Linked DNA regions of Homo sapiens: regions 2, 3 and 4 are each linked to region 1. Evidence: promoter capture Hi-C in 16 types of primary human blood cells and fetal thymus (Javierre and others, 2016). All regions are on one chromosome and are shown on one strand. The core of a region is centred on a gene start or on the middle of the fragment in contact, and the rest is flanking DNA. Distances in the headings are between cores, read along the strand shown.

Region 1 (6,978 bases), core at 2,553-5,052:
CTATTACACTGTATAATATATGAGCATTTGCTTAAAAGCTGAATTTCCCATTACTAAAACTTGAGGATAACTTTTATTATACTGGTAATATCAAAACTGTATTGTTCCTGAGGAAATAATGCTATTAAAATAATTACGGCTTTCAAGTGGATGTTTGAGTGTTCATGCAGTGACCATAATAGTTACATTTTTTTTACTTAATAGTTACATAGCAATTATTATATTCCAGGTCTATTAACTAATATTAGAAGATAATTAGTTAAAATTATTAGTTAAATTAGTTAAAAGTAACTAATAACAGATATTAACTAATTTAAATGTAATCATCAAAACAATCTGCTGAGGCAAATATTTTTTCATTGTCATTTTACAAAAGAAATATTGAGGCCAGGTGCAGTGGCTCACACCTGTAATCCTGGCACTTTGAGGGGGCCAAGGTGGGCAGATCACTTGAGCCCAGGAGTCTGAAACCAGCCTGAGCAACATGGTGAAACCCCATCTCTACAAAAAATACAACAAATTAGCCCGGCGTGGGGCCCCCCCATCTGCAGTCCCAGCTACCTGGGAGGCTGAGGGGAAGGATCACCTCAGCCCTGGAGGCTGAGGCTACAGTGAGCTGTGGTTGCACCACTGCACCCCAGCCTGGGTGACAAAGTGAGTTCCTGTCTAAAAAAAAAAAAAAGAAAAGAAAAGAAAAGAAATATTGAGGTTAGAAGGCAAAAAAACTTGGCAAAAGTCACACGGTTTATAGATGGCAGAGCTAGGAGTGAAACCCAGGCAGTCTGTGATAGTGTAGATGCAGACCTTATACTTTAATATTTCATCAGTTTTCCATACATTTGCAAAATATCAATAATGAATTAAGTTAAAATAGTAGCCCAAACTTGTAACACTGGAATACCATTCATTATCATGCTGGTATGTAATGCCATTCGTGCATGCTGGTATGTAATGCCATTCGTGCTTGACAAATAAAAAAAATACAGTTTTTCTTTTTTTTTGAGACAAGGTCTGTCTGTGTTACTCAGGCTGGAGTGCAGTGGTGTGATCACAGCTCAATGCAACCTCAACCTCCAGGGTTCAAACAGTCCTCCCATCTCGGCCTCCCGAGTACCTGGGACTACAAGTGCATACCACTGCACTGGCTATTTGATTTTTATTTTTAATTAATTAATTAATTAATTTTTTTGAGACAGAGTCTTGCCCTGTCTCCCAGGCTGGAGTGCAGTGGCGCCATCTCGACTCACTGCAACCTCCGCCTCCTAGGTTCAAGTGATTCTCCTGCCTTAGCCTCCTGAGTAGCTGGGATTACTTGCTTCAGCCTCCAGAATAGCTGGGATTACAGGCACAGGCCACCACGCCCGGCTTTTTTTTTTTTCCTAGCTCTGTCGCTCAGGCTGGAGTGCAGTGGCGCGACCTCGGCTCACTGCAAGCTCTGCGTCCCGGGTTCACGCCATTCTCCTGCCTCAGCCTCCCGAGTAGCTGGGACTACAGGCGCCCGCCATCACGCCTGGCTAATTTTTGTATTTTTAGCAGAGACGGAGTTTCACCATGTCGGCCAGGCTGGTCTCAAACTCCTGACCTCAAGTGATCTGCGGACCTTGGCCTCCCAAAGTGCTGGGATTACAGCTGTGAGCCCCGTGGCTGGCCAAAATAAATACATTTTAAAAATTAAAAAAAAAAATACAGTCTTTATAAATGTAATTTTCAGTAATCATCTTAGTAATGCAAAATATGGCTTTGGAGTTTTTTCCAGTTGAATTTTAAGGGAAAGTGCCATTTGCCTCTAATCACTGGAATTCATTATAAAAATACTGTGCAACAGAAAACATGCTATAAGGTGGTTTAAGAGCTGGAAAATAAAAATATCATTTGTTGACAGCACTACCACAAGAGATTAGTAAAAAGCACAGGTGATATGAGATGTAATGTCTGCAGGTAACTATTTCCTAAGACTGAATATTTTAATGAAGGAAAAAAAAACCATTCGTGAGATTCTGCCATCCTTTGATGATTCCATGTATCTCATTATAAATGGATACAATTATGATGGTTTTGAAACGTCCGTTTTTGAGCCTATTAATGTTGCAGCAAAACTAGAATCATTCATTTCTCAAACTGAGAATTAAAGAAGACTCTTATGGCCAGGCTCGGTGGCTCCCACCTGTAATCCCAGCACTTTGGGAGGCTGGCGGGCGGATCACCTGAGGTTGGGAGTTCGAGACCAGCCTAACCAACATGGTGAGACCCCGTCTCTATTAAAAATACAAAAAATTTGCTGGGCGTGGTGGTGCATGCCTGTAATCTCAGCAACTTGGGAGGCTGAGGCAGGAGAATCGCTTGAACCTGGGAGGCAGAGGTTGCGGTGAGTCGAGATCACACCATTGCACCCCAGCCTGGGCAACGAGAGCGAAACTCCGTCTCAAAAAAAAAAAAATTCTCTTCACTTATGTTAATGGTAATAAATGGTATAAAATATACAGGTAACAGTATAGGAATTCCAGTTTATTACAGTATCAATAACATTAAGGCCGAGCGCAGTGGCTCACGCCTGTAATCCCAGCACTTGTGGGAGGCCGAGGCGGGAGGATCGCTTGAGTTGGAGGTTACAGTGAGCTATGATCACACCACTGCACTTCAGCCTGGCGAGACAGCGGATACCTTGTCTTTAGAAAGCAAAACAAAACAATTTACACACACACACACACACACACACTCTCCCTAATTCGGCTTGAGTTGGAGGTTACAGTGAGCTATGATCACACCACTGCACTTCAGCCTGGCGAGACAGCGGAGACCTTGTCTTTAGAAAGCAAAACAAAACAATTTACACATACACACACACACACACGCACACACACACTCTCCCTAATTCGGCCTACTCAAGCACGATACCAAATAGATGAAGAATATCTAATTAAATGGCCATAAAAAGTTCTAGTTCATGACATCCAAGTTTAAAGAATCAAAATGAGTTACGAGAAAACAAACACAAGCTTTAAGAAGTTGGGGAGAAGATGTGCGTGGATTCGCTTCAAAGATGTGACAGAGAGAAAAGAGGACATTTTCTGGACTGGAGATTCAAGACAGTCTGGTTCAGGTTGCATGCTTTTGCAAAGGCTAAAGCCTTAGTCTGTGACATAAATTTGTAAAGAGCTCGGAAAATTACATCTCGGACATGGTGTCTTTTTTTCCTGCTGCTTGAAGGTCTTTGCATTTATGTTCGCATCACTGGGGCAGCTGCCGCTATAATTACTGCTTGTTGGGACTTTTTGTTTACTTGGTAGCTGTGGTGCACCAAGAGAGGCAGAAAAAGAAGAAAAAAAACCTCTGTTACTTGTGACGTTAAGAAGTCGAAAGCAGCCCTGCTTACATCTTCCACGGACCATTTTAGCCCAAGGGAAGGTCCTCAGCAGCTCTAACACGTAGCGGAGCACTATCTCCGCGTAGGAGCGCTCCCGCCCCGGGGCGGGACCAGGACAAACCCCGCCTCCCAAGCCCAATCCCAGCTCTCCGCCGGCGGACAGGAAGCGGCGGCAGGCCTAGCAGCACGGGAACCGTCCCCCGCGCGCATGCGCGCGCCCCTGAAGCGCCTGGGGGACGGGTAGGGGCGGGAGGTAGGGGCGCGGCTCCGCGTGCCAGTTGGGTGCCCGCGCGTCACGTGGTGAGGAAGGAGGCGGAGGTCTGAGTTTCGAAGGAGGGGGGGAGAGAAGAGGGAACGAGCAAGGGAAGGAAAGCGGGGAAAGGAGGAAGGAAACGAACGAGGGGGAGGGAGGTCCCTGTTTTGGAGGAGCTAGGAGCGTTGCCGGCCCCTGAAGTGGAGCGAGAGGGAGGTGCTTCGCCGTTTCTCCTGCCAGGGGAGGTCCCGGCTTCCCGTGGAGGCTCCGGACCAAGCCCCTTCAGCTTCTCCCTCCGGATCGATGTGCTGCTGTTAACCCGTGAGGAGGCGGCGGCGGCGGCAGCGGCAGCGGAAGATGGTGTTGCTGAGAGTGTTAATTCTGCTCCTCTCCTGGGCGGCGGGGATGGGAGGTGAGGCACGACTGCGAGCGCCGGGGGCGCCGCGACCACGGCGGAGCGGCGGCCGGGCCGAGCGGAGCCCAGTCGCGCCTCGCGGCGTGCGCGTCAGTCAGCCCAGCCGGCCAGCGGCGCCACTCTGGCGGGCCGCGCTCCCCGCTCCCTATTGTCCCCCGCGCCCCGACCGCTTTCCCTTCGGTGGCGGGCCGAGGAGGCTCCCAAGCCTCCGGCGAGGCCTTCCCCGCCCCCCACCGCCCTGGCGGCCCCGGGAGGCGGGGGTCGCCTCCCAGAGAAGCGAAGTCGGGGCATCCGCGTCGCCTGGTGAGAGCGGTGGAACCCAGGCTGGTGGCTGCATCCCTCCAGTCTGCTCGGCGGGCGCCGGTGCAGGCAGCCGCAGCGAGGCTGGCGGTCTCGCCGTCCTCGTTCAGCGCTCATCCTGCTCACCATTCCTCCCCCAGCCCCTGCCCGGTGGCGGATTCCGAAGTCCTCTCCGCCGCCGAGACCCGCCGCGCAGACTCGTGGGAAGTTGTGTTGTTTGCAGCTGGGCTCGTGTATTGTTCTTTACCCGGCGCGCCGGTCCTGACCGACCCCATTCTGCAGAGGGGCCGCCCGTGGAGTGGCAGCAGTCATCACCCGCTTATCTGAGACTAGTGGCCTCGGTTCTTCCTGTGTCCTGTGTTTGGAGAGAGATCACAGGAGGGTGTGTTGGTGTTCTTGAAAACATTCTGTCGCCCAGGGGAAAGGGTTTGGTCGGGAGAAGGGTAAACCATTTGGGGATGTTCTTTGATTTGTAGGCTGGATTGGGTCTCTTAGAGTAGAAGTTCGGTCCCTGGGTGACCCAACTTGAAGAGTTTCGTTAAACTTTCAGGTGGAGTAGATGTACAGTGTAGTTAGTGGATTGTCAAAACAGTGCCCCCTCCCCCCTGCACATGAAAGTCAAATTTGCTAAAAGCATGTCATTTCTTGTTTCGGGTTTTGAAGACAACGATTTTTATTTCCGGTGTGTTCTAGGACCAGCTGCATCATTTTATTCTTGCTTAAAGTGCTTTATTTTAGGTAAGCTTTTTGACTTGCCCCAGAGTAAACTTAAAAACCTCAAGGTGTGCCTAAAAGCAACGATTGAAAAAATTTGAGGAATGCTTTGGATGAGTGTCTGTAGCCTTTGATAATTTAGAAAATATCTATTTCATGTAATGTATTGTTTCTGTTTTTTTCTTTGCCACTTTGACTTATGACTGCAGGACCAAGTGTATTTCTGTCCTGTATTCTACCGAGTCCGAGGGTGGTACTGCGTAGGCAGACTTCTGTTATAGTTTGTAGTGTTCATTTTTTTGTTACACGTTTTATTTAATTTTTTTCAATCCAATTCATCAAGCAAGACACACATTATAGATTAAGAGCTGATAATAGATGTTTAGTTTTAAAAAGGATTATGTGCGGGAGACTCTCTGTTAGAGGAGCCTTTTTCATCTGACATTTGTTATTTCTGTTCTAAACGTGGCTTTCAACAAATCGTTTTCCTATCTTTTTTCACTTTTTGTGATTAAATTCAGGAGTTAAGACACTGTTCTCTATAAGGTAATAAAAAGTAAGACAAACACATGAGGCACTTTACTGAGTAGTAGTATACTAAATGTTCTTTTAAAAATAATGAAAACAGTAAGAAACTGATGTAGTCTTATATTTGAAGAAAAAACAATTGAATAACATGTTTGTGGGTTAAAACTCTTATACAAAAATTTTCTAAATTCATATTTCCAGAGTCCTTTATTGCATTAAGCATTGGTTAAAAGGCTAATTTTTGGTGTTTTTGTTAAGCAGAACTTTTTCAAAAAACATAAGACAAGTTTTATTAGTTTTATTTTAAAATTAGTATCAAGATTCTAGCTTTTGGGTACTTGGAGATACTTGTAATTTTATTGTAACTATGGGGTATTTTTATCTACTAATCTGAGCTATTTTTGGTCACTTGTAAGATCTTTGTATGATGATTTGTAGACTTCAGCACATTGAGATTGAATGTATTTGTTTTAGCATATGAGAGAAAGGAGAAATTTGTGTAGATTAGAAGTTGTGGTGGAAATTTAACTTAAAATGTAAATCATTTTCAGGTAGTTAATAAATCCTTTTTGTTGCTTCCACCTCCCCAATTTGTCAGTCACTGTTGTGTGTGAAATTTTTCTTGCTCTGTATATTACTAGGATGGGAAGCTGGAAGGAATAATTAAAGTGTTTAGAATCATAAAACAAACTTTCCTAATGGTGTCCATTTCCAGCACAGCCCCATCCTATGTTGTAGTTGTAGGAGCAAACCATGTTTTTTTATTTTATTTTTAAAATTTAACTGGTGTGTTTGAGAGCACAAAAGGCATTTCAGCTGTAGCAGTAAATTCCATAATGTTTTGGTTTGATGAAATCATGCCCGAAATGAACTTCAGAGTATGATATGTCTCTTACATTTAAAAATCTGATGTAAGTGCTTAGCTTTGTACATTACTGCTCAATAGAAATAAGTTTTCTGGAAACTTGACCAGAGCTTTAAAGGTAGTAGAGCTTAAGCAGTTAAACTTTCTCTGACTCTGAGTCGGAATCTACCAGCAAATAAGAATTTAATGAAAGAGACAGACTAATTTTGTCTTTATCCTTAAGGATCTCTGACTCTTCATCTTTTTAAAACTTCAGTTTGAGTCCAGTTAACTCCATCATCTTTTTTAAAAAATGTTTTATTTTGTTTATTTATTTTAAAAAGTAGTGATGGGGTCTTAATACGTTGCCCAGGCTGGTCTCAAACTCCTCGTCCCTAGCGACCCACCTACCTTGGCTTCCCAAAGTGCTGGGATTGCAGGCATGAGCCACCCTGACTGGCCAATTCCTTGTCTTAAGACATTTTTCTTAACAAGAAAAATTTACATATTACATATTACTAGGATGGGAAGCCAGAAGGAAGAATTAAAGTGTTTAGAAT
Region 2 (6,978 bases), core at 2,088-4,587, 240 kb after region 1:
TGCCGTGGGGTTTCTCCAGAATTCTCAGCTGCACAACTGTGAACTGAGGGAGTTGCTTTGAGGCAGTGTGGCATACAACACCTTATCCTTTTATTTGAGGGACGTGCTAAAAGTTTAAGTAGTCAGCTTTCCAATCCTCATCCTCCTTCTTTCATTTACCTGTTTCCTCTTCCTTTTTCCTCCCATCACCTTTGATTCTGAATATTTCCCTCTGCTGTTCTGAGGTCTGTTTTTAGGGGGCTGGCTTGGCTAACAGGAGTTAGGACAGAAAGGGCCGGCTCTGCATGAGCTCTGCTTTCTGCAGCCCAGAGCAACGGTTTGCTTTGAAGATTGTTGAGAATATTTGGATTAATAAGATTTGTTCTAATATTTCCCTTCATTTCTGATCATCAAAGTGCTTGGAAGGTTTGAGCTGGTGCAGAGTTTCTTCTAGTTTGTCCTTGGGAGCAAGTGTCTGGAACAGGGTTGATTTAAAAATGTTTTCTGACTGAAGCCTTGTTAATGGGGCAGGCTGCAAATTCACATCAAGGGAGTGTCATCTTTCAAAGCAGCTTCTTGGCAGAAGGGGATGTGGAATATTAGAGAAATCTGAATCTGTTAAGCTTCCATTAAATGAACCCTTGATTCCAGACTGTGCTGAGCGGAACCTAGGGACTGTGGGCCGTGAGTAATTGACTTCTTCAGTGGCAGGATGCCTGAGAAAGGTCGAGCGTCCTTTGGGATGAAACATCCACCAGTTTGAAGGAGGTTTTTGCTTTTCTGTATTCCTCTGTGTCTCCTTTTCTATGTACTTTTACTTTTTTTTTTTTTTCGTTGATGCTTTGTGTTTTGCCCAATATAATGGAGATGAAAGGCGGAGGTCTTGTGCCGGGGTCTGGAGGATGTGTGTGGAACGACCCTCGTTGTCATAGGTCATCATTTTATGGCTGTCAGCCTTCCTCACATTGACTGTAAGTACCTTGAGGACAGGGGCAGGATTTTACCTTCCATCCCCTTTCCCCGCCTCCTACCTCGTTCCAGTGCCACTGTTGCTCAACCCATATTTGGCAACTTATCCCAGGGCGCCTCTGTCTGCTGAAGCTCTGACCCTGTGACCAGGCCACTTTAAGATGGGTGGGACAGGTCTGAGACTCCATCTGCCTTCCTAAAAGACTGCTGGATCTGGAGATGTCACCCTGTGGGCTGTGATTCCCGTGGCTTTTCCAGGTAGTCTCGCAGACCCAGCCGGCCCAGGCCATCCTTCTCACCTTCTCATATTGCTCCTGGTTCAAAGGCCCCATCCCCATTTTTCACATCTATTCCTGACTGATTTGCGTGGACTTTCTGTCTTAAAAAGCAAAATAAAACATTGTAGAAAACTTAGAGAAAAACAGCCAGGTGCAGTGGCTCATGCCTGTAATCCCAACAACACTTTGGTAGGCCGAGGCAGGTGGATGACCTGACGTCAGGAGTTCGAGACCAGCCTGGCAAACATGGTAAAACCCCATCTCTACTAAAAATACAAAAATTAGTCAGGCTTGGTGGCTCATGCCTGTAGTCTCAGCTACTGGGGAGGCTGAGGCAGGAGAATCGCTTGAACCTGGGAGAAGGAGGTTGCAGTGAGCTGAGATCATGCCATTGCACTCCAGCCTGGGGCAACAGATTGAGACTCCGTCTCAAAAAAAAAAAAGAAAAAGAAAAAAAAGAAAACATAGAGAAAATCACCAAAATTACCTGTATTCCCATAATCAGAGATAACTATTGTATTATGGTTGTGATTTCCTTCTAGGTTTTAAAATGCTGTGTGTGTCTCCATGTGTATGTTTGAGTTTAATTGTGTGTATGTGTGTGTATATATATAATTTAGAATCCTGATTTTATAACTCAATGTTTTGTCTTGAACACTCCCCCACGACATCAATAATTGGCAAGAGAGAATCCTAACGTGTGGTTGTACCAGAATTATAATATTTGAACAACCCTCTACTGTTGTAACTTAAGTTACAACCACAGTTTTTTCCAAATGTAAACCACACTGTGATGCAATCTTATTCATAGACCTTTCTCTATATCCCAGATTAATTCTCTTTGAATGAATTCCTGGAAATGGGATTACTAGATTAAGTGACATCAACTTTTAAAAAGACTCTCAATACCTATTGCCAGTTGTCAGCGCCAATTTAGCTTTGCTCATGCAAACCAGCAGGGTGCCCTTGTCTTCTGGACATAGTGGGTTTTACCAGTCATATGTATAGCTCTCCCCTGAGAACTTGCCTGGGCCCTAACCCTTGGGATGTGGTATTTATCATTCATGTTCCTGCAGCATCTGATGCCATCCCTGGAGAGCCCCACGTATGGGTAAATGCAATGCAATGGTAAATGCAATGCAATGGTAAATGCAATGGAATGATTTATTGCCTGCATCTCCTTGCGTTAGGGCCTTGGGGTTAGTGAGGATTCAGTTACTCTGCTTTCACCACACTCCCTCCCCAGGCAGATCCCCGAGACAGAGAAGAATGGGGAAGAGGACTGAAGGATGCCTTTGAGTTGAATGAACAGCTGAGAAGTCTTAGCTGGAAACATGCCAGAATTACACAAGACCATGGATAATCATTTAATTCGTATTTTGTACCATTTCATGTAGCCGAGAAGAAAAACATAGGATGTAGAGTCAGGAGCCCTGGATTCTAGTTTTGGGTCTTCCAGGCATTAGCTGAGTTATGTTAGGGAAGTCTCTTAAGCTATTTGAGATCCAGTCTCTTCATCCGTAAATATACAAAATAATAAGGCCTTCCAGGTGCGGTTGTTGAGATGCTGAAATGAGACGTCATCACGTGACAGCACTTTGTATACTAAAGTATTTCTGGAAGGAAGTGCTGTTATCCTCACCAACTCCATGTGGAACAATGTGCATTACTTGGCAATGTGTCACTCTTGCTGAGAGGTCCTTTCAGGACGTGTTATGATCTTATGTTTTGCTTACTTGTTTATTATAGTATTTCATTGAATCCAGTATACACAAATAGCATGATATACCATTGTTTAACATACCACTAACAAGGAAAAAAGCAAGTTACAAGTTAAAACCTGATGTCTTAGTGATAGTCTTATGTGAATTGGTCACAGTGCCTCTTGTTGTTTGGAGATTTCTTTCCCCTACTTTAGGGTTTGGCAGTTTCTCCTACTCTTAGTTGCTTTGCTTAGAGCCTGATGGGCAATCCTCTTGCATGTGCACCAGTAAAGCACAGCTTCATATATTGTGATTACATTTCATAAAACACTTTTTGTTACTTTGTAAGAAAACATAGGATGATGGTTACTCTAATGATGAATATCAAATTTATGCCTCACCTCTGTCTCTGTGCCTTTTTATGTGCAAATAATGAGTTAGTCTTTTCAAAAACCTTCTGAATGGAAATTAAGCTCAAGCCATGCACTGCCACTCAAAAAGGCAAGCAAGTCAACTGAAGCGATGGCAGTTAAGAGCCCTTTTTATCAATGTCACAACCATGCCCTAGCCCACAGCATTGTAAGATATATTCCACATTCAAAGATATTAAATAGGAACAACAGTGGACCTTACAACTGAAGACATAAAGTATCTGTTTCCCATACCAGGGAGCTGTGTCCTTGTCTATTGTGTCTTCCACCCTATGCCCAGTACCTAGCACCATGTTGGCATTCAGAAGGTACTCAGCAAATACATGTTTAGTAATGGAGAAAACAATACAATTCTGCGCATGTACATTTTATTAACAGTGGAACTGGATAAAGTCTTATGGAATGAAATAGTATATAAATAGCTTCTTCTTTTTCTAAACTCTTTTTTTTTTTAATGATTCAATAGATCCAATGGTACAAAAACCCCTTTCTTATAAAATTTTTTAATTGGTGATACCAGTTATAACAACTAAAATTTTGACTGGTAAATATAATAATAGATATCCATTGACAGCATTCCTATCATATTATGTAATTTTGTATAACACTTGTCTGTTTCTAAATGCAGACATGATATCACTAGTAATAGGGACAGAAGTGATTCTTGGTCACCAAGCAGGGTAAATTTGGGAGTATAGGAAACAATTTCATCCATGTAAATGATGTGGCAAAACACTGCGTATACAGAGAGTCCTGGCTTACTGGGGAGTTGGTAAGCCATAGTATGGCTATTATATGTTAAAAAAAAGAATAAAGATTGTGTTTGGGAAATGAATTTTGCAGGGAAAAATAGAAAATTATATTTATTTACTGAACACCTATTAGGTTAGCACGTGGTCTTTTAATCTTCACAGCAATCCTTGGAGTAGATAGCTTTGCTTCATTTTGCAAATGGGGAACCTGAGACTCAGAGAGAGTAACCTGCCTGTGGCTAGTAGGTAGTTGCTCCAGTATTCCAATTTCAGTCTTCTTGATTCTACAGCAATTGCTTTTCCAACCATTCTATGCTGACTCAGAAAACCTGAGAGTTTCGGAATACCTAATAGGAGTTAATGAACATTTAGGAAGACTGGGGCCAGCCCTGGAGGTGGAGTGGAGAAAGTGGCTCATCATCTGAGGAGGAATCAAGCTGGTGACATTGATGGATTCTATTCTATCTAAACCATTCACAGTGGATTGATGTATTTCCCAGACAACACTGAGGAGAATGTGTGGATTTGGGTACAATAACAAGAGAGGATTCTGGTGATATGTTCCCACAATTGCCTGCATACATATCCTCTTCATTTTGCTTTATTTGGCTCAGTTTTGTTCCTTCATTCCTTTAGCAGTTCTTAAAAGAGCTACTGTATAAGGTTTGCTTTGATACAGGACAAATACATTGGGATGTTGTGAATGAGGGAGCTCTGCCTACAAGTAGTACTCAACAGAGAGGCTGGGTGAGAAGCCTAGGAGAGAAGAAAGGATGCACAGAAGAATACTAAAAAATTAAAAAAAAAAAGTAGCAGGAATGAAGGGTTGAAAAACCCACAGCCCTTTCACCAAGGTCAGGTTGGTTGGTTCTTCCTGCACAGTGCTGGAGAGGGCAGAAGGATGTGAATGCGGAGGAAAAGGTGTCCAAAAAAAAACTGGGACTAATGAGAACCTTGTTGGGGACTATGTCAGTCGTAAGGACTCTCCCTCAGCCCCCAGCATAGAGTTTGGGGATGAATACATTTTTGTTTCAGAGCAAAGTTGATACATCCAAATGTTCCCATATTAACTAATTTGTTCAGTTCAATACTAATAAAGGGATGGAGGGGGGTCGGCCTATAGGAGAGGAAAAGAACCAGCTAGGAAAGGCGTTTCGTATTTTATCAAAGTATGTGGGTTAATGATCTCCCTACCTCCAAAATGACCACAGCGAGTAAGACTCGCTGAATCCTGTGTTCAGGTCATTTGTCATGAGAGGAACTGGACTGGACTAATATTGCTTTGGGGATGATCGGCTTAATTTGACTATGGGGTGGCAGTTGTTGGGGCTCAGCAACTGTTACCCCAAAATATGGTGCTTTGACATGCTGAAATAAGAAGAGCCTCAGGGTCTCTCTGATCTTCACTCCCTACCCCCCACCCTTGGCCCTACCCCATCTCTCAATTCTTCATCTCTCCCAAAGCTCTGGATGAAGTTGTTCTCTTCATCCCTTATCTGCCTAAAGTCTGGAAATACCAAGGAAGAAAGCAATTACCTCTAGTCTCCTCCCTGAGTTTTCATCAACTGAACCCATATCACAGGAAGAAAGACTGAAGTCTGTCAACACACCTGGACAGTATTTTGTCACAAACCATCGTCTTCTGTTTTGGTGCTCATTCAGTATTTCAAAGAGAATCATTTACCAGCCCTTGTCTGCTCTGAAGTCCCAACAGACTTCGTCCATGGCCATTGTAAGTTCCCCAAGTCCACTCGTCTCCCCCTAAAAATCATTTACCATCCCTCAAATTGCCACATTTCCCCCATCTCCCCTTCCCCTATGAAGAAGGGTTAATGGGTAATTGTTCTCTATGGATCCTCCAGTGCTAGACATGTTAAAATAAATTCGTATGCCTTTTCTTCTACTAATCTGTCTTCTGTGAGTTTTCAGTGAGCTTTCAGAGGGCAAAGGGGAAGCTTTCCCTTAGCCTCTACACAGTGCCTGGTGGAGTATGGAAAAAGGTCGCTAGCCAGCTACCCTTTCTGTATTCCAGAATTGTACAAGCTGAAATTTGTCCTAGAGGCCACTCTCACCTTATTATAAGAGGGACCACTTTAGTGAGCTCTTTTCGTTTTCCAAAGTAAGGCAAGTACTGATTTGTGTGTGGCCGGGGGAATCCTTGATTCAAAGAAATAATTCAATCGTAGATATGTCGCAAGACCTTATGCAGATGACTGATCACATTCCAAGAACAGGAATTTTCTTATTTGCATGTTTAATAATGAGCTAAATCAAGTCAGTTTGACCTTCCTTTCTTCTTTGCTTCCTTCCTTCCTTCCTTCCCTCCTCCTCTCCCTCCATTTTTTTCTTCCTTCCTTCTTTCCTTCTTTTTTTAGAGAAAGCAAAAAGAAAAGTATATTTCTCTTTTGCTTAGAAATACTCTCAAGAGGATAGGGAAAGTTTAGCTATTGTGAAAACCAATTTTATTTCCCTGTTCTCCTGGTTTCCCCACTCCTATGATTTGCCTGTGTCCCCACCTAAATCTCATATTGAATTGTAGTTCCCATAATCCCCACATGTCCTGGGAGGGACCAGGTGAAGATCATTGAATCATGGGAGTGGTTTCCCCCAGCTTGTTCTTGTGACAGTGAGTTCTCACGAGATCTGATGGTTTTATAAGGAGCTTCCCCTACCCCTTCGCTGGGCATTTCTCCTTGTTGCCACCATTTGCGGAAGGATGTGTTTGCTTCCTCCTCTGCAATGATTGTAAGTTTCCTGAGGCCTCCCAAGCCATGCTGAACTGTGAGTCAGTTAAGCTTGTTTCCTCTATAAATTTCCTAGTCTCGGGTATTTCTCAAATATGTCTTTATTAGCAGTGTGAGAATGG
Region 3 (6,978 bases), core at 1,405-3,904, 220 kb after region 1:
ATTTGACCTTATCCTTCATTCCTGTACCAGACATAAACTACACAATTGCCAAGTGAAGCTTACAAGGAATAGAAGGAGGGGTGGGGGCAGAGGACCTTCGACATCACAGTCAAGGGATCTAGGAATATGCAAGTCCTGTCTCAGCCCAGAGCCACCTACCTCATGAAGTTACTGCTGGAGACAAGGATCCTGGGTGCCCTGGCAGGTAGGGACAGGCACTGCTTTAGTATTGGCAGTGATTGTACCTGTAAAAGGAAAATCAGGGCCACTCCGTCCTCCAGGTCAGCTGCCAGAAGATGAATTGGGTGCCTTATACTCAGTGAGAAAAGAAGAGAAGATTGCTGCTTCCTTTCCAGTCTGGACCCGTGGATGGAAGAAACTCAAGTTGGGCCCATGCCCTGAGCGTGGCTTGTTACTGCACAGCAGAAGCGGTTAGGAGCTTGGGCTCTAGCTGGGTATGGTGGTGCGTGCCTGTAGTCCCAGCTACTTGGGAGGTTGAGGTGGGAGGATCACCTGAGCGAGGTCGAGACTGCAGTGAGCAGTGATTGTGCCACTGCACTCCAGCTCAGGTGACAGAGCCAAACCCTGTCAAAGAAAAAAAAAGGCACCGAGCTCTGGAGCCAGATTGCCTGGCTTAAATCCCAGCTCTGCTACTTATTAACTGTGTGACCTTGGGCTAGTTATTTAACCTCTCTGTGTCTCAACTATATAATAAGACTAACAGTAGTACCTACCTTATAGGATTATTATGAGTGACAGATATGTGCCCCTGAGACGTGTTTTTAGGCCGGATTTAATCATGCAAAAAGAAAAGTGAGAGTGAGAGCAGAGGTGACCTGGGAACGCCTGGCTGTTCTGCAGGAATGTTCCCCTCCCTGGAGCTGGAATCTGGGCAAAGATAAACGCTTGCAGCATGAGGAAAGCATTAAGCATTAACTTGGCCAAACAGCCCAAGGTTATTCTTTTTTTTTTTTTTTTGAGACAGAGTTTTGCTCTTGTCACTCAGGCTGGAGTGCAATGGGGTGGTCTCGGCTCACTGCAACCTCTGCCTCTCGAGTTCAAGCGATTCTCCTGCCTCGGCCTCCCGAGTAGCTGGGATTACAGGCAGTAAACCGTGGGTGGGGAGTGTGGGCTGAAAGCATGTTGGATGTGCTCTTTGGGGCAGAGGTTTGGGGGCTGCCTGATGAGAAAATGGGCCTGATCTAGTCCTTGAACCTCCCTAGGGCTTCCCCATGTGCGGACCTGCGGCTGAGAGGGCTGGCTCTTGGGTATGCTTTTAGAGACTGAAGGCCCACCCTGATCCCATTCATTCATTCATTCATTCATTAATTCATTTATTCATTCAACCACACATTTATTAAGCACCTACTATGTGTCAGGGATTGTGAATACACTGTGATACCTAACAGTGAATAAGACAGACCATGCTTTCAAAAAGCTCATGGTCTTATGGTAGAGGCAAGTAAATAAACAACTGTCACACAGTTTGGAAAGTGTTGTGTTGGCCGAAGAATAGGAAAGTGCCCACCCAGCCATAAGGTGGCTGGTGTAAAGGCAGCCAGATGAACTCCATTGGTGGGTGGTACCGCCAGCTCCTCAGATAATCTTGGGAATTTTAATCAAAGGCTGGCCCTGATGGGAGGGAAGGATTATGAAATGTAGGGGGAAGGTGAGCTTATGTGTGGCCAATATGGTCACCTCTAGACTCACAGAGGTTGAGGTCATGGCTGCAGCATGCACCCTGTGCCCTTCAGCTTTCCTGAGGCGCTTGGTGACTCTCATCTTCTTTGAGACTTGCCTGACCCTGGGGTCTGCAGCACAGCGGTTCCTATCCTAGGCATGTTAATTTCCTCATGAAGAAATAAGGAGGGGTTCAGTGACTGCCAAGGCCCACAACTGGCTAAAAAAGCAAACCAGGACCAGAATTCGATTTCTCCGCACATCTAAGTTCTGAGACTATAAAAGTTTTCTGGGCATGTGCACTATTTCCCCTAAGATATTCTTTTGGACCTGTATCCTCCCTTCACCACCCATATCTGGAGGCCCAGCTGACTGCTGCCTGCCCACTTCAGACCACGGGCAGGTACCCGACAGTTTCCAGGTTGCCATAGGGAGCAATGGCAGAGGCAGGGTAGTGGAGTGGCCAGTGGGGCGGGCACTGGCTTTGGAGCCAGTCAGTTCTGTGTTTGATTGTTTAACACTTATTAGCTGTATGGCCTTGGGAAGCTTGCTTAACCAGTAGGAGCCTCAACTTCCTTCTTCTAAGTTGGAAATAGGAAGACCGTCTTGTGTGGGTGGTAGTGAGGATGAACGAAGTTGATGAAATATCTAGTCCAGGGGTTGGCATTCAATGTGTTGTTTCCCTTTCCAAACTTGCCTAAGATCTCTTCCTTCTCATGTCTCAACCCAACATAGTTCCTTCCAGATATTTGTGGGTACTTATCCACCAAGGTCTTTGCCAGCCTATTTGGTACCTCTCTGTGAATTCTGTGCACCTGCTTTAGGTAGCACACTGCCTTAGCTGTGTAGCTTGGCGCGGTGCCTTTGTGCCAAGAAAAGGAGGCCCCTCCTTGGAGTGAGGATTTCAGCCTCCCATCTTCCATTTGGCCAGGTTGTTCTGGGCAAGAGAAATCTACTGGGCTTAGGTGGCAGCTCTGGAGCCTACTTGGCTGAGTCCCTACCTCCACCAGCTAGGGTGCTCCAGCTGTGGGATGCTCTGTCTGAATCAGGCACCTCGAGGAGCCAAACTAGGCTACCGGTTAACACTCTCTGCTAATGAGGAAATCAGTCTGACTGCAAAACACTCCAGCCAGGGTTCTGCCCTTACACCACTGCTAAGGAAACACTCATCCTCACAGCCTCCCTGATATATTACCTAACTTTTTACATTTGTGAGCAGTGGTTCTCATGTATTCATGTGCTGGAGATGCAGACTCCTGGGTGCCATTCCCAGAGCAGCTGATTCAGTAGGTCTGGGAGGCCTGGGAATTTGCATCATCCCAGGGTGGCAGATCATTCTGAGAAGAAGTTGCCCAGTGGTGAAGAGTATGAGTTTTGGAACCAGGCTGGGATCCAAAGCTTGGCTCTGCCGCTAATGAGCCACAATTCTGGGCACGTTTACAGATGGTTTCCTCATGGGGTTGTAAGTGAATGAGATAAACGTGTAAAGTACCTCCCACAATGCCTGGTATATAGCAGGTTCTCAATGAATAAAGGTGGCCCTGGTGGCATTGGTGGTAGTAGAAGTAGGCATTGATATTGCTATTGTAACATCTTCCTCCTTGAAGGGTTCTTCTGCACCTGATCAGTAACAGATCATGAGGAGACAGAATATCAGACAGGATAACTCTTTATGTTGAGGTTATCTGGGATCACCCTCATTTAAACAGATTGGATGGACCAGAAGATCAGTGCTGAGAATCTTCAGGGCAAAGTCCAAACCTCCAGGAAGACATAGGTCTCCTATTTGGCCTTTCCCCAGAACACCGGCCTCAAAGGGGTACATAGACATGGCCTACTGGGACTCTCCCAGAAGGCCTTGCACCCCTGCCTCTGCCTTGTTTGGGGAGTGGGCTGTGCTTGCCTCTTTCCCTGGTTGGATGCCTGCAGGCATATATTGGCCTCCTTGTAGGAGAGAAGAGAATAAAACATGACAGTGAGCAAGGAGAGCCCCAGTGACAGAGCTCAGCTTGCCAGTAAATGGCCAGGGGAGCTCTGAACTAAAAAGGACTATGGGGGAAGATTTGTCCTATTTCATACTAACACGTACCGTAAAGATTCAGTAATTCAAGCTGTGTATACAGGAGCTTGGATAAAGAAGCAGAATAGAAACCCAGAACACTCAAATGCATATGTTTGCATTCAGTATTTGATAGAAGTGACTTCTCAAATTGGCCAGGTTGTTCTGGGCAGTGGAAATCTAATTTCTCAAAGTGCTGGGGTAAAGATGGACTTTAAAAAATAGTATTGGGAGATCTGGAAAAAGATGAAAAGTTATAAGTTTGGTCCATACCTCTCATCATACATCAGGAAAAACTCCAAATGGATCCAATTTTTAAATGAAATAACAGGAATCATAAAATGACCAGAAAAAAAATATGGGCTAATTCCTTGATAACCTTTTGAATAAGAATCTCCCTCTGTGATTCAAAATTCAGAAGCTGTAAAAGATTGTTAAATTAGACTACATTAAAGCAAACAAAAAACTTCTGTATGACCAACTAAATTAAAAAAAGACCATAAGCAGAGGCAAAAAATGAACAATAAAGTGAGAAAAAATAATTGCAACTCATAACACAAAGGGCGAATATCCCCGATATCTATAGAATGCCTAGAAATCAAGGAGACCAAGGACAGCAACCCACAGAACAAAAAATGGGCCAACCAAGGACATGAGGAGCCGTTTCACAGAAAAAGGAATATGAATGGCCCTTTGACATATGAAAAGATCCTCAACCTCACTCCTAAGATGAAAAATACAAAGTAAATATATACTGAGACACAAGTCTCAACCATCAGATTGGTAAACATTAAAAAGTGTGACCACACACCTTGATGGAGACACTGGCAGGAATGCAAAATGGTGCAACTCCAATGGAGAGGGATTTGGCAACAGCTATGAAAGTTACAAATGCATTTTCTCTTTACTCAGCATTTCCTGCATGGGACTCTACCCTGTGGCTATATCTGCACACTTACGAAATGAAATTAATGCAAGGTCATTCATTGCAGGATTGTCTGTAATTGTAAAATACTGGAAACATCCCAAGTGTCCATCTAGTGTCTAGATAACTGAACGGGGACATATCCCTCAATGGAATACTTTGCAGCTTGACTAAAGAAACACTCTGTACTGATTTGAAAAGATTTCTAGAATGTACTGCTGAGTTGCCAAAGTAAGGTGCAGAACAGTATCTAAAGTGTGATACTTTTGTGGAAGGGTGGGGGCATAAGTAAATAACTCCATGTTGGCTTTCAGCTGCGTAAGGTTATGTTGGAACGATACAGATGAGATGAATATAAGTGGTTACCCATGGTGGGAAAGGGGGAGGAGGGAATGGATATGGACATCGTGGGATGGGGGTGAGATTTTGCAAATCTATTCTATTTTACATTCTTTTAATTTCTGAGCCATGTTAGTATTTACTTCCTTAAAAGAATTTCTTTTCTTTTATTTCTTTGTATTTTTAGAGACAAGTTCTGGCTCTGTTGCCTGGGCTGGAGTGTAGTGATCGTAGCTCACTGCAGCCTTGACCTCTTGGGCTCAAGCGATCCTCCCTCCTCAGCTTCTCAAGTAGCTGGGATCGCAGGCACATGCCACCAGCCCTGCTCCACTAGCTAATTTATTTATTTATTTATTTATCATAGACACAGGGCCTCACTGTGTTGCTCAGGCTGGTCTCAAACTCCTGGCCTCAAGTGATCCTCCTGCCTCGGGCTCCCAAAGTGTTGGGATTATAGGCGTGAGCCTCTGTGCCTGGCCTGAAAAATAATTTTAAATAAAAAAAAAATCCCAGCTTGTTTCCTGCTTGCACTTTCCATGATAACTATTTCTCTGGATGCTGTTCACCTACCCCTGCAGCCCCTTCATGCCCCAGAGAACTCTGGGAGTAGCTCTCTTGCTGTCTGACTGTGGAGTCAAAGGGTCCACTCACCTCGTCTGTCTTCTTGGCTTACGTGTCTGTCTAGCTAGATGCTGACCTTCTTGCCTTCAGTTGCACCTTCACCGACTTGGGTCCTAGTGGCCCTTGATTTCAGCTATTTAATAGGTCAGGGGGTCAGTTTCCTTCTGAGAGTAAAGGTGACCTGAGAGAGGAAAGGTGGCCCCCACAGAGAACTCCCCACATCAGCTGCTTCATCTCTGGCAGAACTGACTCGGCAGATGGCAAAGTGCTTGGAGCCACCGGAAGCCAAGGTGCAGAGAATTCTGTGGAAGGAAGCTGGCTTGCAGCTCAGAAGCTGGGCAGCGAGGGCTGCTGGAACATAGAGGTGCCCGCTCATTTGGCAGGGGTGCCCAGAGCGAGAGGAAGTGGGGCTCCTCAGTTAGGAAGCTTTGTCAGACATCCCCCTACTGCCCCAGGGCTTCACAGAGGCCCTGGAGAGACTGATGCTTCCCCAGCAGCCGGTCCATCTGGGCTGGTGCTCACGCAGCTCTGGGAGCTAGGATATTTTAGATGTGTCAAAAGTGACGAATGTTGGAAAGTGCCACGGGCATCTCTGGGAGCTCACAGTTCACACTGGCAGCTAAGATGTGCCGAGCTTTTTGGAAGAAACTGAACTCTGGAGGAAACTGAGAAGTCTTTTGCTGTCCCAGATGTGGGTGGCAATGGGATGGGCTCTGCAAGGGGACAGAGCCCCGACATCAATAAAGATGGGGCTGGGCCATAGCAATGCCTGAGGTCTTGGCAGAAAGAAGTGGCATTCTGAGAGGGCAGCAGGGGCAGGAAGGAGCAGGAACGTGTGGATTTAGAAGCAGGCACGCAGGGGCCTGAGGTTGGAGTCAGCAGAGCTTGCAGCTGGCAGCACCGGGGGCTGTGGAGTCGGGCCTGTTCAGTTCCGCTTGCCAGGATGGAACAGGGGCAGCAGCCAGAGCCAGCCTGAGGCTGGAGGTGAGCCCGGGGCCTTCGCCCACAGTGAGGCTGGAACAAGGCTCCAGTGTGTCTGGATTTGAAAACACCCCAGGGAATGTGTTACTAGAATTCAACATCTACCCCGAATATAATGCATCCTAAGACGAGGGTGCCTTGGTGTTCTGTTTGCAGCATGGCCTTGGTTTGCGTGTAGTGTCACTGGTTCTCTGCCTCTGCAGGGAGATGGCTTGTCCCATGCTACCCAGCCAGGGAGGTGGCTCGTCCCAAGCTGGGGGTGGAGGAAGCTGAGGCAGTGGCTGGGAGAGAAGGTGTAGGATCAGGCTTAGGCGAGTCACAGAGAAGGAGGAGAGTCAAAGAGAAGGGATCCTCACTATGGACCAGTGGGGTT
Region 4 (6,978 bases), core at 640-3,139, 180 kb before region 1:
CATGATTAATTAGCTTAAAAAAGTTTTAAATTATAGGGATGTTAAAGATTCTTATTTTTAACTTTTAAGCTAGAGCAAAATATATTTATTTCTAGGATATAATGATTTAGTGACTAGCTAAAAGTGGTTTTAAATGAACGTTTTGCAGTATGAATGGAACTTAGGTATTTTTTAAAGCTTCTTGGTAAATGAAACCTTTATTTGAATAACTGCAAATTTCTCCCTCCTATAAGGACAGTGGCAGAGGGTGGACATGATATATCTGGATTCTGGTCTTTACCTACAATTTTCATGCAGAGTTTGTCATGAACAGCTGCTGCATTTTTTGTAATCTAATTTTCTTTACTGCTTTAAGTGATCCAAGTGTTACTCCCAACCACTGAATGATTGCAACTAAAATAAAATGAATGGATTAATATTGAAAAGGGAATATTAAATTTTGATCTTAAGCACACCTGGGTATCAGAGATGAGGACAACTCACTATTTTAAGTCTTCCTAGGTTAGGAGAGTCCCCTGTTTGTGCCAAAGGAAATTGAAAAGGGCTAATAAGCATTCCCTGGGAGAGGTGGGGATGTAGTTTAGAGAAGTAAAAAAGTTATCTTAAAGGTAGCTTTTAAGATAACTCTGACTCAGTGTATCACTTTGAGAGATACATTTTCTGTATTTAAAGAAGCTTGTCATGAGAAGACTGCCAACAAACCAGAGGCTATTTCAAAATGGAAAACGATAGAAATTCAGAAATAAGTATATCAGGAATTAACCATGTGTCTTGCAGTAGTTTTGATTCATATCTTTTACCTAGCATGCTGTGCTAGTTTGACAGGTACTGTGTATTAATCATAGTCCCAGGTTGTTTGAGTTGACTATTATTTTAGCATTGAAAATAAACATGATTTATTCCTTTCTCACCTACTTTTAATTTCTCTGTATATCCCTTTTTCAGTTTTGACTAGGAACATCATTTATCTCTTATTATTAGAAATAATTTCAGCAATATAAAATTTTAAGGGTTTTTTCAATACATTTTATGACAGGTATATATATCTATATATATGATATATAGATTATATATAGGTGTATATATATCATATATGATATATATATATATTTTTTAATAGGGTATTGCTCTGTTGCCCAGGCTAGAGTGCAGTGGTGCCTAGCTCTTTGCAGCCTCAAACTCCTGGGCTTAAGTGATCCCTCCCACCTTAGCCTCCCTGGTAGCTGGGACTACAGGCATGTGCCACCACAACATTTTAAATAAGTAAACATTATTTATTTTTATCAGTATGTTTGCTAATTTTTTTCTTTGTATGGGTTATACTTGAACTTTATTCCATAACTCTGATGTTAAGAGGTCTTAAGGTATTCAGTTAGAAGTTGTAACATTTGGGGGCCGGGTGCAGTGGCTCACGCCTGTAATCCCAGCAGTTTGAGAGGCTGAGGCGGGTGGATCACCTGCGGTCGGGAATTCGAGAGCAGCCTGGCCAACATGGCCAAACCCCATCTCTACTAAAAATACAAAAAAAAAAAAAAAAAAAATAGCTGGGCATGGTGGCGCGCGTGCCTGTAGTCCCAGCTACTCGGGAGGCTGGGGAGGCTGAGACAGGAGAATCGCTTGAACCCAGGAGGTGGAGGTTGCAGTGAGCTAAGGTCACTCCACTGCAGTCCAGCATGAGACCCCATCTCAAAAAAAAAAGAAGTTGTAACATTCAATCATTTGTTTGTAGCAGGCCTCATTCTAAGAGATGCATGACAAAAAGCTCTAGTCTTCTTGAAATCCGGCTATCATTGTTATGAAAATCTTGTGAATTACAAAGAATATAATGTAAATCTCCAACTCCAAACAGTTTGAATTAATTTACAATAAAGATGCTTATTGATTCAATTATTTTATTTTTATTATTTTTAATATGAGAGATTTTGAACCCAGTTTACTTATTAAAGAATGCTCTTGTCTCAAATTCCAAGCGCTACTGATCATCTTTAGAGCCAGTTTTGCTTAAATGCGTCATACCAACTCAGTTCTAGCCTTCTAAAATGGCAGAGTTCTAAAATGGCAGAGATGTTTTCTCTGCCATTTTACAAAGTGATAAGATTATTTTAGGCCGGGTGCAGTGGCTCATGCCTATAATCCCAAAAGGCCAAGGTGGGAGGATCGCTTGAGTCCAGTAGTTCAAGACCAGCCTGAGCAACATAGTGAGACCCTATCTCTATTTTAAAAAAGAATTAAGATGTTTAAATAATAACTTTTAGAAACCAAATTTGTATAGGGAAACTTATTAAAATATCAATAATGAACAGATTTGAAAACCAAGGATATATTAAATATTGTTTTAATGTGATGTCCGTTTTTCTTTTCTTTTCTTTTTTTTGAGATGGAGTTTCGCTCTTGTCACCCAGGCTAGAGTGCAATGGTGTGATCTCGGCTCACTGCAACCTCCGCCTCCCGGTTTCAAGCGATTCTCCTGCCTCAGCCTCCCGAGTAGCTGAGATTACAGGCATGCGCCACCACTCCAAACTAATTTTGTATTTTTAGTAGAGACGGGTTTCTCCAGTTGGTCAGGCTTGTCTTGAACTCCCAACCTCAGGTAATCCTCCCGCCTCGGCCTCCCAAAGTGAGCCACCGCACCTGGCTGATAATCAGTTTTTCAATCAAGTTGCTGAATTACTACATTCAATTCTTTTTGCCAGATCTTGTTTTACTTACTGGTATCTACATTGAAAATAATTTCATCTTGGTTATGCCACTTTTCCTTCAGTGCGCCTGTTTTCTCTTTTGTAAAACTGGAAATTTTACTAGGTCCCCTGTAAGGCTCTTTTAGTTCTGAAATTTAATAATTATATAGACAAAAATGAGAAGAAAATGCTTTCTGTTTAACTAAAATGATGTTTAAGGAAGCAACAGGTAAGCTCATAGGAAATCAGTATCGTTTTTCTTCAGCACAAATTATTAGAAAACGAAAAGTGCCAAGAAGGGGATTACGTAGAGGTAATTATGTAGACATCAGCGAGACATAATATATAATAGCTGGTCAGGAAAAGAAATGATTCTTATGACAATATTAAGGTAGTGAATAAAAGTTAAATGACGAGAAGCTTCATAGGTATGGAAAAAATACTTTGGTGAAACATTGAGCTTATTCTTTTATAAAATAACTATAGGGTAACTTTCTTTTAAAAATGTATGTTAAAATGATTCTATTTAGAGAGGTTAGAGGGAAAGGAACCTACATTTTTAAGTTTCTCCTAGAATATTTTTTAAATGCAGCTATTACAAGCACAAACAATGTTGATAATGTTATAGTGGGCTCTGACATTTATATCAACATATTTATAAAATTCCTTTACATGTAGTTAATAGAGTAGATGTTTGTATCTTAGAATGGCTTTCCTGAGTCTTCACACTCTCTTTGTTATGAACTTTTAAATAAGTAACTTAGGAGAAAGCTTCACCCATTGAAGTTTACGGTTATATTAATTGGGTGTGTGTTTAAAAAGTAGTTAAACAGGTAGAGCTAACTTCTCATTAGGTTGTTTTAGAGATTATAGATTTAAAGACTTTTGGTTTACCTGATGCTGGCATATCCTTTTCTTTTAAAATTTCAACCTTTAAAGTCACCAATTAACTTCAGCAAAAGTGATGTGGTTAATCAGTACAGTATTTAGAACTATATGTAATGCAATACTTACCGACATTAAAACTAATTTGCAATACCTGGCAGCTTTAAAAAGACTAAAAATGATGTGTACAATCTGATTTTTCTTCTATAGAAACAAATATATTTTGAGGTTATAGGTTTGGCCAAACATCTAATGTATAATTTTTTGTGGAAAATACCACAGACTACATATTTATAATTAAGTACATGTTTACTCTGTAAAGCTTTCTAAAACTGGTATCAATTAAATGTAGTAATCAGCCATATAAAGCACATTTCATATAACACAGTATCATAGTGTACTGTAATTAGCTTTTTTCCTCCAGCTGTAGTATGTTCAGATGTTAAGTAACACTTTAATCAGAACTGTGGCATTGAGGAGGACTTTGGGCGTATAATTGTTATAGATATTTCTTAGGTACCTGAAAGGCTGAAAGCTCTGAAGGCCAGGACATAGTTTTTCATTTACCTCTGTCTCTGTAATGCCTGGTGTAGAGCATGGCACGTAATAAGTGCTCAAAAAATATTTGTTGAATGAATACTGAGGGCCTTTTTGGGGCTTTCTTAACTGCTTTTAGAAATACCTCTTTTGGGCCAGGCGCATGGCTCACGCCTGTAATCCCAGTACTTTGGGAAGCTGAGGTGGGCGGATCACCTGATGTCAGGAGTTTGAGACCAGACTGGCTAACATGGTGAAACCCCGTTTTTACTAAAAATACAAAAAATTAGCTGGGCATGGTGTTTCGCATCTGTAATCCTCGCTACTTGGGAGGCCGAGGCAGGAGAATCTCTTGAACCTGGGAGGCAGAGGTTGCAGTGAGCTGAGATTGCGCCATTGCACTCCAGCTTGGGCAACAAGATCATCATCTTTAGATAATCTGTTCATCTTTAGAAACTTGGTCTCAAAAAACAGAAAACAAACAAAAAAAAGAAATATCTCTTTTGGTGCCTATTTTAATTGCATATTTCTTTGTAAGAAGCAGGTATATCAGGGATTAATAGTTTTTATCTTTTTTTTAAAGGTGCCTCTCTCAAGAGCATAATGGCTTCTCCTTACACATTGATATGTAAAATATACTTACTTTTAGAACACATGAATCATTGCATCATCCTTTTATTCTTTACCACATTGATGCTGTGTTGAAAAGCCTCTGAACCTTGCTGGAATACTGTCCAACCTCAGAGGTTGTATATGTCATTTTCATTTCACAAAATTAGCCCTTTTATCGCAGCCATTAAAACATACATTTGGCCAGGCGCGGTGGCTCACACCTATAATCTCAGCACTTTGGGAGGCCGAGGTGGGTGGATCACAAGGTCAGGAGTTCGAGACTAGCCTGGCCAACATGGTGAAACCCCCTCTCTACTAAAAATACAAAAATTAGCCAGGTGTGGTAGCATGTTCTGTAATCCCAGCTACTCTGGAGGCTCAGGCAGGAGAATCACTTGAACTTGGGAGGAGGAGGTTGCAGTGAGCCGAAATGGTGCTGCTGCACTCCAGCCTGGGTGACAGAACAAGACCCTGACTCAAAGAAAAAAAAAAAAAAAGGTAATCCAGAAAAGTACAAAAAAGTGAAGATTACCCGTAATCCCACCACCCTGAATTTATCATATGTAGCATTTTACATATGATATATATACATGTTTATAATTAAGTACATGTTTACTCTGTAAAGCTTTCTAAAAGTTAATCTAATATAGTAATCAACCACATAAAGCACATTTCATATTACAACACATGTTGATCTAAGTTGTGTAGGTGTATGTGCAAGTACTTACAGGAGGTTTATGTTTAAAGGTTTTTTCCCCCCTTTTCAACAACTAAAATAGATTCACACCATACATGGTGTTTTGTTGAAGGTAGATAGAACTTAAATATTTCTGTAGTCTGGAGAATCAAAAAACAATAACCTTCCGTCTATATTCTTCTCAACAGCTTCTGTAAATAGATTCACTTGTCTTAGTGGCTCATGATCTGCACTCTGCGTTAGTCATTTGAATTTTAAAAAATACAGATAGCAGGCTTTCACTCCCCATAGAGTTGGTTTGGGTTGTTATGTTGGGGGCCCAGGCATCAGTATGTATTTTCTAAAAGCTCCCCAGGTGATTCTTACATACACCTGAAGTTAAGAACTAACTAATCTAAACTAAAGCTTGAAATTTAGCATCATTTTTATTCATCTCTCTGCTGGTCAGTTTCTAGATTATTTTATATACTTTTCAGTTTTCGGAAAACTTCTACATTGCTTTATTTGATTCTCACAACGGTGCTGAGAGTTAAGCAGGACTATTTTCTTTTTACTGGTAGAATAGAAAGGTAATTCATTAAGAACCCAGTTAAATTACCTTTGACAGTCTTGTGTTTGTAGGCACACCTGCCTGAAGGAGTGTGCCGGAATTGTTTATTCTGTTCATCTTTAGATAATTAATGTAAGATATTTGAAAAATATACCTTTGGCATATTCTAGGTTTATTATAATGAATGTGAATTATCTTTGTAGTAATTTTTCAAAGTGACCTATTGGGCCAGGTGGGATGGCTCACTCTTGTAAACCCAGCACTTTGGGAGGTGGAGGCGGGTGGATCACTTGAGGTCAGGAGTTCGAGACCAGCATGGCCAACATGGTGAAACCCCATCTCTACTAAAAATACAAAAACTAGCTGGGCATGGTGTTGGGCACGTGTAACCTTAGCTACTCAGGAGGCTGAGGCAGGAGAGTCACTTGAACCCAGGATGCAGAGGTTGCACTGAGCTGAGATTGTGCCACTGCACTCCAGCCTGGGCAATAGAGTAAGACCCTGCCACAAAAACAGAAACAAAAAACTCAGAGTGACCTATTGTATGACTGTTGTGTTTAAGACAATGTGCAAGGCCTTTCAGAAAAATGATTTTGTTAGTAAAATGTCAGTTTAATAGAAGAGAAGCTAAAACACTTGCAAACAATACAAGGCATGGCCTGTGATTAAGATACTCCATGCAATTGGGAAGAGGTTGTTGCTGGAAACATTTCAGTTTGGCATATCTTCTTAATCTTCCCCTCCCTTGCAACAGAAATTTTATAACTAAGCTTTTTTTTTTTTTTTTTTTAACATTTTATCGTAGCTCTTGTGAATGTTTAAGGGGAAAAGTTACTCAGCCATAAAGTATTTTGGCAAAATGATTTTAAAATTTCCTTAGGCTGGGAGCAGTGGCTCACGCCTGTAATCCCAGCACTTTGGGAGGCCAAGGCAGGAAGATTGCTTGGACCCAGGTGGTTGAGGCTGCAGTGAACCATGACTGCCCCTGCACTCCACCCTGGGCGATAGAGCAAGACCTT

The links. Contacts are between HindIII fragments. The CHiCAGO score rates a contact against its expected background, and 5 or more counts as called.
Region 2: a fragment that was not itself captured here is called in contact with the fragment with the promoter of ADAM10 in region 1 in 3 of 17 cell types (fetal thymus, total CD4 T cells and megakaryocytes); the score reaches 5.4 in fetal thymus.
Region 3: a contact is called between a fragment that was not itself captured here and the fragment with the promoter of ADAM10 in region 1, in 4 of 17 cell types (megakaryocytes, M1 macrophages, M0 macrophages and 1 more). The highest score is 9.5, in megakaryocytes.
Region 4: a fragment that was not itself captured here is called in contact with the fragment with the promoter of ADAM10 in region 1 in 5 of 17 cell types (fetal thymus, erythroblasts, naive CD4 T cells and 2 more); the score reaches 7.5 in fetal thymus.

The regions. Positions count from the first base shown.
Region 1 is chr15:58,746,531-58,753,508 of GRCh38, reverse strand. ADAM10 (ADAM metallopeptidase domain 10) reads left to right here and starts at 3,802. Exons shown (of 16, transcript NM_001110.4): 1 at 3,802-4,029. The coding sequence starts at 3,975. RefSeq lists enhancers at 3,183-3,362, 4,453-4,582, 4,034-4,669 and silencers at 3,433-3,722, 4,053-4,342. The HindIII fragment of the contact is 2,079 bases long and covers 2,999-5,077 here.
Region 2 is chr15:58,506,795-58,513,772 of GRCh38, reverse strand. All of the region lies in intron 1 of LIPC (lipase C, hepatic type), which reads right to left. Among named protein-coding and RNA genes, the nearest start is that of LIPC-AS1, 12 kb to the right of the region's middle. The HindIII fragment of the contact is 5,465 bases long and covers 605-6,069 here.
Region 3 is chr15:58,522,141-58,529,118 of GRCh38, reverse strand. All of the region lies in intron 1 of LIPC (lipase C, hepatic type), which reads right to left. Among named protein-coding and RNA genes, the nearest start is that of LIPC-AS1, 27 kb to the right of the region's middle. RefSeq lists an enhancer at 6,635-6,978. The HindIII fragment of the contact is 852 bases long and covers 2,229-3,080 here.
Region 4 is chr15:58,924,845-58,931,822 of GRCh38, reverse strand. The region is part of intron 2 of SLTM (SAFB like transcription modulator); the gene reads left to right. Among named protein-coding and RNA genes, the nearest start is that of SLTM, 5.3 kb to the left of the region's middle. RefSeq lists an enhancer at 3,942-4,441. The HindIII fragment of the contact is 2,423 bases long and covers 678-3,100 here.